Linked DNA regions of Homo sapiens: region 2 is linked to region 1. The links are contacts of gene promoters, found by promoter capture Hi-C in human tissues and cell types (Jung and others, 2019). All regions are on one chromosome and are shown on one strand. The core of a region is centred on a gene start or on the middle of the fragment in contact, and the rest is flanking DNA. Distances in the headings are between cores, read along the strand shown.

Region 1 (4,865 bases), core at 597-3,096:
GAGTACTGTGATAGCAGTATGCACTGGTGCTATGAGAGCACAGCATTCACTCTGTCTTGAGGTTCAGGGTAGGCTTCAGAGAGAAGGTGACATTTGAGCTTGAAGAGTGAGTAGCACTTCATGAAATAGAATGAGAGAGAATGGTATTTCTTTTTTTTTTTTTTTTTTTTTGAGAATGGTATTTCAGAAAGGGTGGAACACCATGAATAAAGCAATGTGTTATTAAAAAAATAGTATGTTTGGGGGATAATAAAAAGTTTATCTTTTGAATTCTGATACTTAAATAGTCAACAGTATGCATGGGAAGTAAATTTCCTTCCATACAGGCATACATTACTTCATGCAATAGTTGTGAAACAAGGACCACAGGGAGATGCAAGCAAATTACGTTTAAAAGACTATGGAGTAAAATTCTTTTGTCAGGTGGATTAATCTATCCCTAATGAATCTCTCCCGAGAAGCTTTTCCCTCCAAAGGTCTATCTTTTTCCAAGACGTTTATTCAGGGAGGTATCCTTCATATCTCCCTGAAAAGAAAGAAAAGTAAATAGTGGCTAATGCTTTTAACAATGATTAAAAAAATCAGAAAGGTCAAGGCTTTAAGGTCATTTAATGTGAAGAGGAAATAAGATAAATGTTCAGCATTTAAGGATTATCACTAACCCAACTTTTCATAAACACAGAATAGTGGAGGTGGAACCTGCAGAGACTTTTATTCAGGGAACATCCACTGCGGGACAGGCAGATGCTTTGGTATCCAGGCTGCTCCGCGCCGCCAGCTGCCCAAGTAATCCTCACAACAGCCCGCAGAGGTAGGTATTAACCACCCTTTGTTTTACAGGTGAGGAAACAGAGGCACAAGACGGTCAGGTAACCGGCTTGGAGTGATGAATGAAACTAAAATAAGCGCCGACCTCGAAGCTCATTTGGTCTTTCCCCAACCCCATGCGGCCTCATTAAAGAGACTTTTTTGATTAGCTATGGAGAAAACGTTCTTCATCAAACATGAAATGCAATCCGGAAGGCACAGGTTTCTCTCTCTCTCTCTCTCTCTCTCTCTCTCTCTCTCTCTCTCTCTCTCTCTCTCTCTCTCTCTCTCTCTCTCTCTCTCTCTCTCTCTCTCTCTCTCTCTCTCTCTCTGTCTGTATGAAGTGGCTTCTGGGGCCCCACGAAGCAATGTTCCCCCAAACAGCCCCGGACGAGGGTGTCTATAATTCATCCTGTTATAATTAACCCCGGGGTTACGGTATTGCTTCTAAAGCCCTTGTTGAAATGCAGATATGGACCTCGCAGGATTGACACGATCTCTCAATTACACCTAATTAAAGAGCTGGCTCTTTGAGAATCTGACCCGACTGGGCCAGGAGTGGGAAAGGCGGGGGCTGCCGGTTGGGGTGAGGGATAGGGTTCTGCAGTCCCGGGAAGGCAGGTGAAGGGTGGGGATCAGGATTGGAAGAGTCACTGGGTGCTCGGTGAGACGAGGGAGGTTGGAGCTGAACTAAAACAAAGTTTGACTTCTGGACAATTATCCAGGGAGAGGGCGGGGAACACACCTTGCCCGGACTGTCTGGGAATCCCATTGACAGGTCATCTCAGGTTCACCATCTTCCTGTCGTGGGCTCCTCCAGGGAGGCCACCCGGGAGCAATTAAACTGGGCCACACCAGCCACCTCCCACAGCAGCGGGGTCCGCAGATTTAACCCTTTCCCCCCAGATTCCGGCACTGGGTGCCGCGCTCTCTCCCCCAGCACCGCGCCCGCGCCCCCGGCTCCCGGACTGGGCATGCTCAGTAGCCGCCCGCTTCGTGCTCCCAGGGAAGCCTCTGCACGCCCTCCCCCGCTGCTCTCGGTCGCCTCCTCGCCGCCAGCCGCCCCGGGTGCATCCCGGCTTGCTCCGCTCCACGCGACCCAGATTCCTGCCCCGCCCCCGCCCCTTCCGCGCCCGCAGCCAGTGCGGCAGCCGCGGCCGCCCCTGTCCAGCCTCGGCGCCCGGGACCGAGCGCGTCGCTCGCCGCCGCGGAGCGCGTAGCCGGAGCGCCTGGGGAAGGCGGAGATGAAGACCACGCCGCCGCGCGCCGGGAGCTGCTGAGCCTACCGCCGCCAGAGTCCAGGTGATTGGCGACCCCAGAGGAGCCTAGGGAGTAGGGGCGAATGCCCTTGGGGAGGAGAGAGGTGCGGCGAGGACGCGAGGCATCACGCAAGCTGCGCTGTGCCTGGGAGGCAGCAGAAATGCTAAGCATCGGGGGCAGAGAGGGAACGGGAATGAAAGTGCACTCTGCCTTGGTGCAGGGGCTCCGGGGTCACCCAGGACAGTGATTTCCCCTTCTATCCTGTCCTCCCAATTAACACCCGAGAGGCTGCAGGTCGGCGCGAGAGGCTGTTTGCATCTCGGCCCGGGCGTAGGTCGCCTAGCGACCTAACGCCGAGGGCTCGGGGAAGGGATCCCAGACAGAGCCAAAATGGAAGGCGGGACAAGGGCGGCCTGGCTGGGGCGAGGGGCTGGTCTGGGTCCCTGGGAACCCCTTGCCTTGTGGGCTTCGGTCTCCAGGGAGGAGCTAGGCAGCCGGGCTGCGGGGCCGCCGGACTGTGGGGTCCTCCGCGCAGCGAGCTGGGAGGAGCGGTCGGCTGGGCTGTTGAGCTGCGCCTCCTCCAACTGCTGGGAAACTCCGCACTTCAATATTGGAGCATCTCTTTCCCGGGCAGGTAGAATTGGACAGCCGAGTGGGGAGTGACAGCTGACAGCTGACGGGGCTGTTAAAAGCAGAGCAGTGGAGTGTGGTGGTGGGGTGAGCTGTTGTGGGTGCTTTTTTTTGTTTTCCAAGTGTGGGTACGGGCTGTTCTGACTCAGTGTTTATGCTCAACCTCTAAGCGGCGAGTTCGGTAACACATCTTATGAATATTTCAGGAACGACCTCACGGGCTCACTTGCTTCAGATCAAGTTTAATGAATATGTTGTCAGCCTTTCTGCTCTGCACAGTGCCCTGAGCTTTCCACATTTCATCCCTTTCCCCCACCACCTAGGAAAATACGCTGCTAACCCCCAGTGGGCCGTAGATTGGTACTATCAATTGAGTCTGTCATTTGGAGAGACCAATTTTGGGCAGGCATCCAGGCATTGTTCTGCATCTCTGCAATGTATACGTTTTGTGCCGGTGGCTTGACAACCGTCCTTAACTGGTGCTGCCAATATGGTGGAAAGCAGGTAGTATGCTTGTATTGGGATAAATGTCTTAATTCATTAACCTATTATGACAACACGTAGTTACAGCAGACTTAGTCATTCCCTCCCCCAGAAGTTTTCTCGGGGGTCAGTTTAGTTGGTATTTTGCCAAAGGCACACTCTTGTATCTACATTGGGAGGTATTTCTCTCATCTTAATCTTTTTCATAGGAAGAAGAAATAAATGTCTTCTCTGTAAGACATCACTGTCAAGAACACTGAAAGAAGAACCCATTAACGTAGGGAACGTTGAGGACTGGAACAGGTTGTAGGGCGTCTTCCTACACTTTGGGTTATAACTTCCATTGCATCACCACCATTTACCAGTAAACCAGCACACACAGCAATCAGTACTCGAAATGGTTCTCTTTTGCAGAAAAAGCCTGCTTTTCTCCCAGCTTTGGTGAGATAGATACGTAATCTTCGTAAAGACCTATAAGGAATTCCTCTGTGGAACAAAATTTTAAGCCTCCAGTACAGGATGCTGAAAGAAGCAACTCTTTAATCTTGCCAGCCCATGCACAGTGAAGCTGAAGTGCTTCAATTTACAGATGTTTTACATTTAGGGAAGGCTTTTCCAACAAAGACCTACCGCAGTTACATCACAGGCTCCACCTCCGCCTGCCAGGCTGCTTCTGCAAGGCTGTTAGTAAGGATACTATGTATTGCTGTGCTTGATTAATGAAGAAAATAAATCTCCAAATCAAAGATTTGTTTATTTCTCTTTTTGCATTCTGCTGATTTAATTGAAAATATGAAAATTTCAAAAATTAATACTTGCAGCCAGGACTTAACTGAGGCATGATAATAACTCTATAAATGTTAGCTTTCCAAGAGATCTTAAGCAAAATTACAGTATTCTTTGTAAAATCTTCGATAAATTGTATTATAAGAAAAATTCTATGAAATGGACAAAATAAGTGAAAATGTCATGTAATAAATTAAGCAGCATTTCTTAAAGCACGTTACTGAGATGTTCAGAAAGAAACCTAGTTGCATTAACAGACATGAAATCTGGATGATTGAGAAGTTTGCGGAGCTTGCATACAAATCCCCAGGTGCATTAAAGGAAGCGTTCTCCGAGTCCTCTGAGAATTTTTAACAAAGCACTGTTAGGTTTTCCAGATTTAGCAAATAAAAAGGTGGGCTGCCCAGTTAAATTTGAATTTCAGATAAACAGTGAATTATTGTTTTTACCTATGTCCCATGTAATATTTGGTACGAACTTATACTACAAAATATTATTAGTTGTTTATCCTAAATTCAGTTTCGACTGGGCAGCCTGTATTTTTCTGGCAACCTTAGTTACTGGAAATGTTTCATTCCTCCTTTTTGGGTCATTTATGGGTTGAAAAAATAAAGTGGAGCAGAAATCATATGCTGTTCTGCAGACAATCTGGGACAAGCTCAGTTCTGGTTCAAGCTTTTGAAAATAACTCATGCTTAAAAGTGAACAGTTTCACTTCAACACATATTGGTTGGGTATCTCTGCTTGCTAGGCTTAGTGGAAGGTGCCAAGGATGCAAAGATGACATGGGGAAATGGGGCAGGGGGAGGGATCTGCATCATAAGTTCTGGGAGTTGCTGTGCCAGTAGTGTGTGTTTATGGTGGTGGTGGAGGGGCGTGTCTACTGTAGGAGCCTAGAA
Region 2 (4,998 bases), core at 1,209-3,708, 170 kb after region 1:
GGGGGGTGGATCATTTGAGGTCAGGAGTTCAAGACCAGCCTGGTCAACATGGTGAAACCCCGTTTCTACTAAAAATACCAAAACAAAATTAGCCTGGCGTGGTGGTGCACACCTGTAATCCTAGCTACTTGGGAGGCTGAAGTGGGAGGATTGCTTGAACCTGGGAGACTGAGGTTGCAGTGAGCTGAGATTGTGCCACTGCACTCCAGCCTGGGCAACAGAGTGAGACTCCATCTGAAAAAAACAAAAAACAAAAACAAAAAACAAATACAAGAGAGGAGAGACAGAATTTGTTCCTCCAAACTCCAGTACTTGTTGCAAGTTCAGGCTAGGGCCTTAATTCTTTAGGCACCTAAGGCAGTTTCTTGACCTGATATTCTAGCTCAGTAATTATTGTCTATATTCACTCTTCTCAGTGCCATATCGGTTGAATCCATATTTCAAGTATTATACTTTTTATACCTGAGATATCTACTTGGATCGTCTTAGTTGTTTTTTTGTCCTTGCTTCATATTAACCAATATAATCTCCTGTTTCTTTGAGGATATTTATTAAGCTTATTTTTAAATCATGGTTCATGTCTTACACCAATTCTGGTTCCTCCAGGTAGGTCATTTGGGTGGTGGTTTTTCCGTCAAACAGATTGGACTCCTCCACTATTTCAATATTTTGTTGCCTCTGAGTTCATTTTCCCCTGGTAATGTGTACCCAGAATGAGGAGCTAAGGCCCAGACTCTTGCTTGTGCCATTTCTGGGGAGTTGGGGAGGATGAGTGTCATTTCATATTTTACAACTTCACCAGGTAATTCTGACCTTCATACCAGATTATTGCAGAAGCTACATAAACCTTTACCCTCAAAGATACCCACTGAAAGATCCTTTCTCACCCCATTTCAACTCTCCAATCCTAGAAGTGTGGGGAGATGGGAGAGAGCAGGGAACACACAAAGACTCAATTATCTGACTGCCCCATTGTTAACTGTTCCTCACTCCAGCCAACCACGCTGCTTTTGTCCCACTGACTTGAGGCTTTGGACTGGAACTACTACATTTATTTTCTACTTACAATAGAGATATCAATGATCTACCCAGGACAATATACAAAAAAAAACACATATCTCAAAGTCCCCTTGCCCCTCCATCCCACTGGAGCCTGGCCTTCTGCCCAAACTGAGTTTTCCTTTTCATACCAGGTCATAATCACTTTGCATCTCCTCAAAGGTTTCTCACGAATTTTGCGTTAGTACTTCAAATGCCAGAGCTTTTCTCTCATTTCCGTGGCATCTCTACAGTTCAGTTAGAAGAGACAGCCAGCAGCTCTGCTCATTCACCATCATATCTGGAATCGGAATCAGAAGTAGCCGCTGTTCCTTAGCAGCACTGATTGAAGTCTCATTTGACCTACGATTTTTAGGAAATTTTATAAATTTTAGCCCTTTTTTTTTGTTTCTGAGACGGAGTCTCGCTCTGTTGTCCAGGCTGGAGTGCAGTGGCGCAATCTCAACTCACTGAAACCTCCACCTCCTGGGTTCAAGCGATTCTTGTGCTTCAACCTCCCAAGTAGCTGGGACTACAGGCATGTGCCGCCATGCCTGGCTAATTTTTCTATATTCAGTAGAGATGGGGTTTCACCATGTTGGCCAGGCTGGTCTCAAACAAACTCCTGACCTCAAGTGATCCACCTGCCTCAGCCTTCCAGAGTGCTGGGATTACAAGCATGAGCTACCATGCCCAGCCTATTTTATACATTTTAACTCTGCTTCTTCCACTCATTAGCAATTGATGTTGGACAAGTTAATTAAATTCCCACAATCTCTATTTTTTTAGATCCCATCTCGTGTAGTAATTGTGAAAATTAAATGAGACAACATGCAAAATCATCTATGAAATTTGTTGTACAAAGTAAGTATAATCTAGAGGCAGCATAGTGTGTAGTCAAGTATCAATTAGCTTCTGCTGCTTAACAAACTATCCCAAAGCTTAGTAGCTTAAAACAGCACAATTTATTTATGTTTTTGTAGGTTGGCAATTTGGGCTGCACTCAGCTGAAGAGTTCTGGGAATTGTCTACTGCCATCTAGAGCTGAGGAGGTAACAGTGCCAGTGTCTCTCATTAGCCAGGAGGGTAGCCCAGGCTTTGTTCACATGGCAGCAGGCGAGTTCCCAAGGGTGAGATAAGAAGCATGTATGGAATGGTTTGGATCTGTGTCCCTACCCATATCACATGTTGAATTGTAATTTCTTGTGTTGGAGGTGAGGCCTGGTAGGAGATGGTTGGACCATGGGGGAATATTTCTCACAAATGGTTTAGTACCATGCTCTTGGGACTGTCCTCCCCATAGTGACTAAGTTCCTGTGAGATGTGGTCATTTAAAAATGTGTAGCACCTTCTGACTATGATCATCATGGCAGATGGGAGGCAGGAGTAGATTGCAGCTCTGACTCAGATGGACAGAGCATTGTGTGGAGGCTCACATCGTGAACTTAAGCTCCAGAACAACTTCAATAACAAACCAGGAGTCCCGAGAGGACCCACAGACCCTCTGAAGGAAGTGGACTGCTCCTGCAAGACCCAGGAGACACCCCAAACACTGTGCCCAAACTGCAGAAGTGGGAAAGGGAGATCCTCCACTCCTGAACACACACCCCCACTGGGGAAACTGAAGGTCTAGTTTGCGGGAGAATTTTCTGACCATACCTGGAGCTGAGTCAATTTAGAGAGCCAAGTGAAATACAGGGGTAGAGGAAGCAGCGAGAAAGGTCCTGGGAGCTCGCTGGGTCCCCAAGCAGGCCATTCCTGCCTAGCACCACAAGGATTCTTTGGGAGGGTGGACAGAGGTGCAGGGGTAAACACCACAGGGAGAAGGAAGTCTCCAGGTGAACTTTGTAACAATTTGAACCTGGTGAGAAGCCTCCTGGCCAGAACTCGGGGGAGGGTGCAAATCTGGTGTGCAGACTCTGTAGATGGGGGAAGAACCAAAGCCCTTTATTTTTGCAGCTGGGAGACAGGTAGCCTGAAGCAGGTTCTCAAGCCCTGCTCTCCCTCTGCCTGGAAACAGACTCAGGGCTGTTGGAGGGGCACAGTGGGAGTGAGATCGACCCTTTGGATTGCGTGGGAGCTGGGTGAGGCCTGTGACTGCCGGCTTTCCCCCACTTTCCTGATAACATGCGTGACTCAGCAGAGGCAGCCATAATCCTCCTAGGTACATAACTCCATTGACCTAGGAACCTCACCCCCATTCCCCACAGCAGCCGCAGCAAGACCCACCCAAGGAGAGTGTGAGCTCAGACACACCTAGCCCTGCCCCTACCTGATGGACCTTCCCGACCAACCCTGCTAGCTGAAGACAAAGGGCATATACTCTTGGGAGTTCTAGGGCCCCACCCACCACCAGTTCCTCTCTATACCACCACAGCTGATGCTCTCTGGAAAGTGCCAACCTCCTCCAAGTGGTTGGCAGGAGGCCAACTGGCACAAAAATAGACCATTAAGCCACCAAAGCTAAGAACCCTCACAGAGTCCATTTCAACCCCCTGCCACCTCCACTGGAACAGGTGCTAGTATCCACGGCTGAGAGAGCCATAGACAGTTCATATCACAGGACTCTGTGCAGACAACCCTCAATACCAGCCCAGAGCCTGGCAGATTTGGTGGCTAGACCCAGAAGAGAGATAACAATCACTGCAGCTCAGCTCATAGGAAGCCACATCCATATGAAAAGAGGACTACATCAAGGGAACACCCCGTGGGACAAAAGAATCTGAACAACAGCCTTCAGCTCAAGACCTTCCCTCTGACAGAGTCTATCCAAATGAGAAGGAACCAGAAAACCAACTCTGGTAATATGACAAAACAAGGCTCTTTAACACCCGCCAGAAAATCACACTAGCTCACCAGCAATGGATCCAAACCAAGAAGAAATCCCTGATTTATCTGAAAAAGAATCCAGAAAGTTAGTTATTAAGCTAATCAGGGAGGCAGTAGAGAAAGGTGAATCTCAATGCAAGGAAATCCAAGAAACGATACAAGAAGCAAAGGGAGAAATATTTGAGGAAATAGCATAAAGAAAACACAATCAAAACTTCAAGGAACATTGGACACACTTATAGAAATGCAAAATGCTCTGGAAAGTCTCAGCAATAGAATTGAACAAGTAGAAGAAAGAAATTCAGAGCTCAAAGACAAGGTCTTTGAATTAACCCAATCCAACAAAGACAAAAAAAAAAATAAGAAAATATGAACAAAGATTCCAAGAAGTCTGAAATTATGTTAAACAACCAAACCTAAGAATAATCAGTGTTTCTGAGGAAGAAGAGAAATCTAAAAGTTTGGAAAACATATTTGGGGGAATAATAGAGGAAAACTTCCCCAGCCTTCCTAGAGACCTAGACATCCAAATGTGTCTGGAATGGTTCCCGTGGGTTCTTGGTCTCGCTGACTTCAAGAATGAAGCCGCGGATCCTGGCGGTGTTACAGTTCTTAAAGATGGTGTGTCCGGAGTTTGTTCCTTCAGATGTTCAGATGTGCCCAGAGTTTATTCCTTCTGGTGGGTTCACGGTCTTGCTGTCTTCAGGAGTGAAGCCACAGACCTTTGCAGTGAGTGTTACAGCTCTTAAAGGTGGCGTGTCCAGAGTTGTTCGTTCTTCCTGGTGGGTTCGTGGTCTTGCTGACTTCAGGAGTAAAGCCGCAGACCTTCACAGTGAGCGTTACAGCTCTTAAAGGTGGTGCGTCTGGAGTTGTTCATCCCTCTCGGTGGGTTCATGGTCTCACTGACTTCAGGAGTGAAGCCGCAGACCTTCGCATTGAGTGTTACAGCTCATGAAGGTAGTGCGAACCCAAAGAGTGAGCAGCAGCAAGATTTATTGTGAAGAGCAAAAGAACAAAGCTTCCACAGCATGGAAGGGGACCCTAGCGGGTTGCCGGTGCTGTCTTGGATGGCCTGCTTTTATTCCATTATTTGGCCCAACCCACATCCTGCTGATTGGTCCATTTTACAGA

The links. Contacts are between HindIII fragments. The study calls those that stand out against the background at their distance.
Region 2: a fragment that was not itself captured here is called in contact with the fragment with the promoter of ELMOD1 in region 1 in 1 of the 25 tissues and cell types used here (aorta).

The regions. Positions count from the first base shown.
Region 1 is chr11:107,589,301-107,594,165 of GRCh38, forward strand. ELMOD1 (ELMO domain containing 1) reads left to right here and starts at 1,847. Exons shown (of 12, transcript NM_018712.4): 1 at 1,847-2,109. RefSeq lists silencers at 1,730-1,839, 1,900-2,039 and an enhancer at 2,290-2,349. The HindIII fragment of the contact is 8,803 bases long and covers 1-4,865 here.
Region 2 is chr11:107,755,773-107,760,770 of GRCh38, forward strand. No RefSeq gene overlaps it. Among named protein-coding and RNA genes, the nearest start is that of SLN, 46 kb to the left of the region's middle. The HindIII fragment of the contact is 6,096 bases long and covers 1-4,998 here.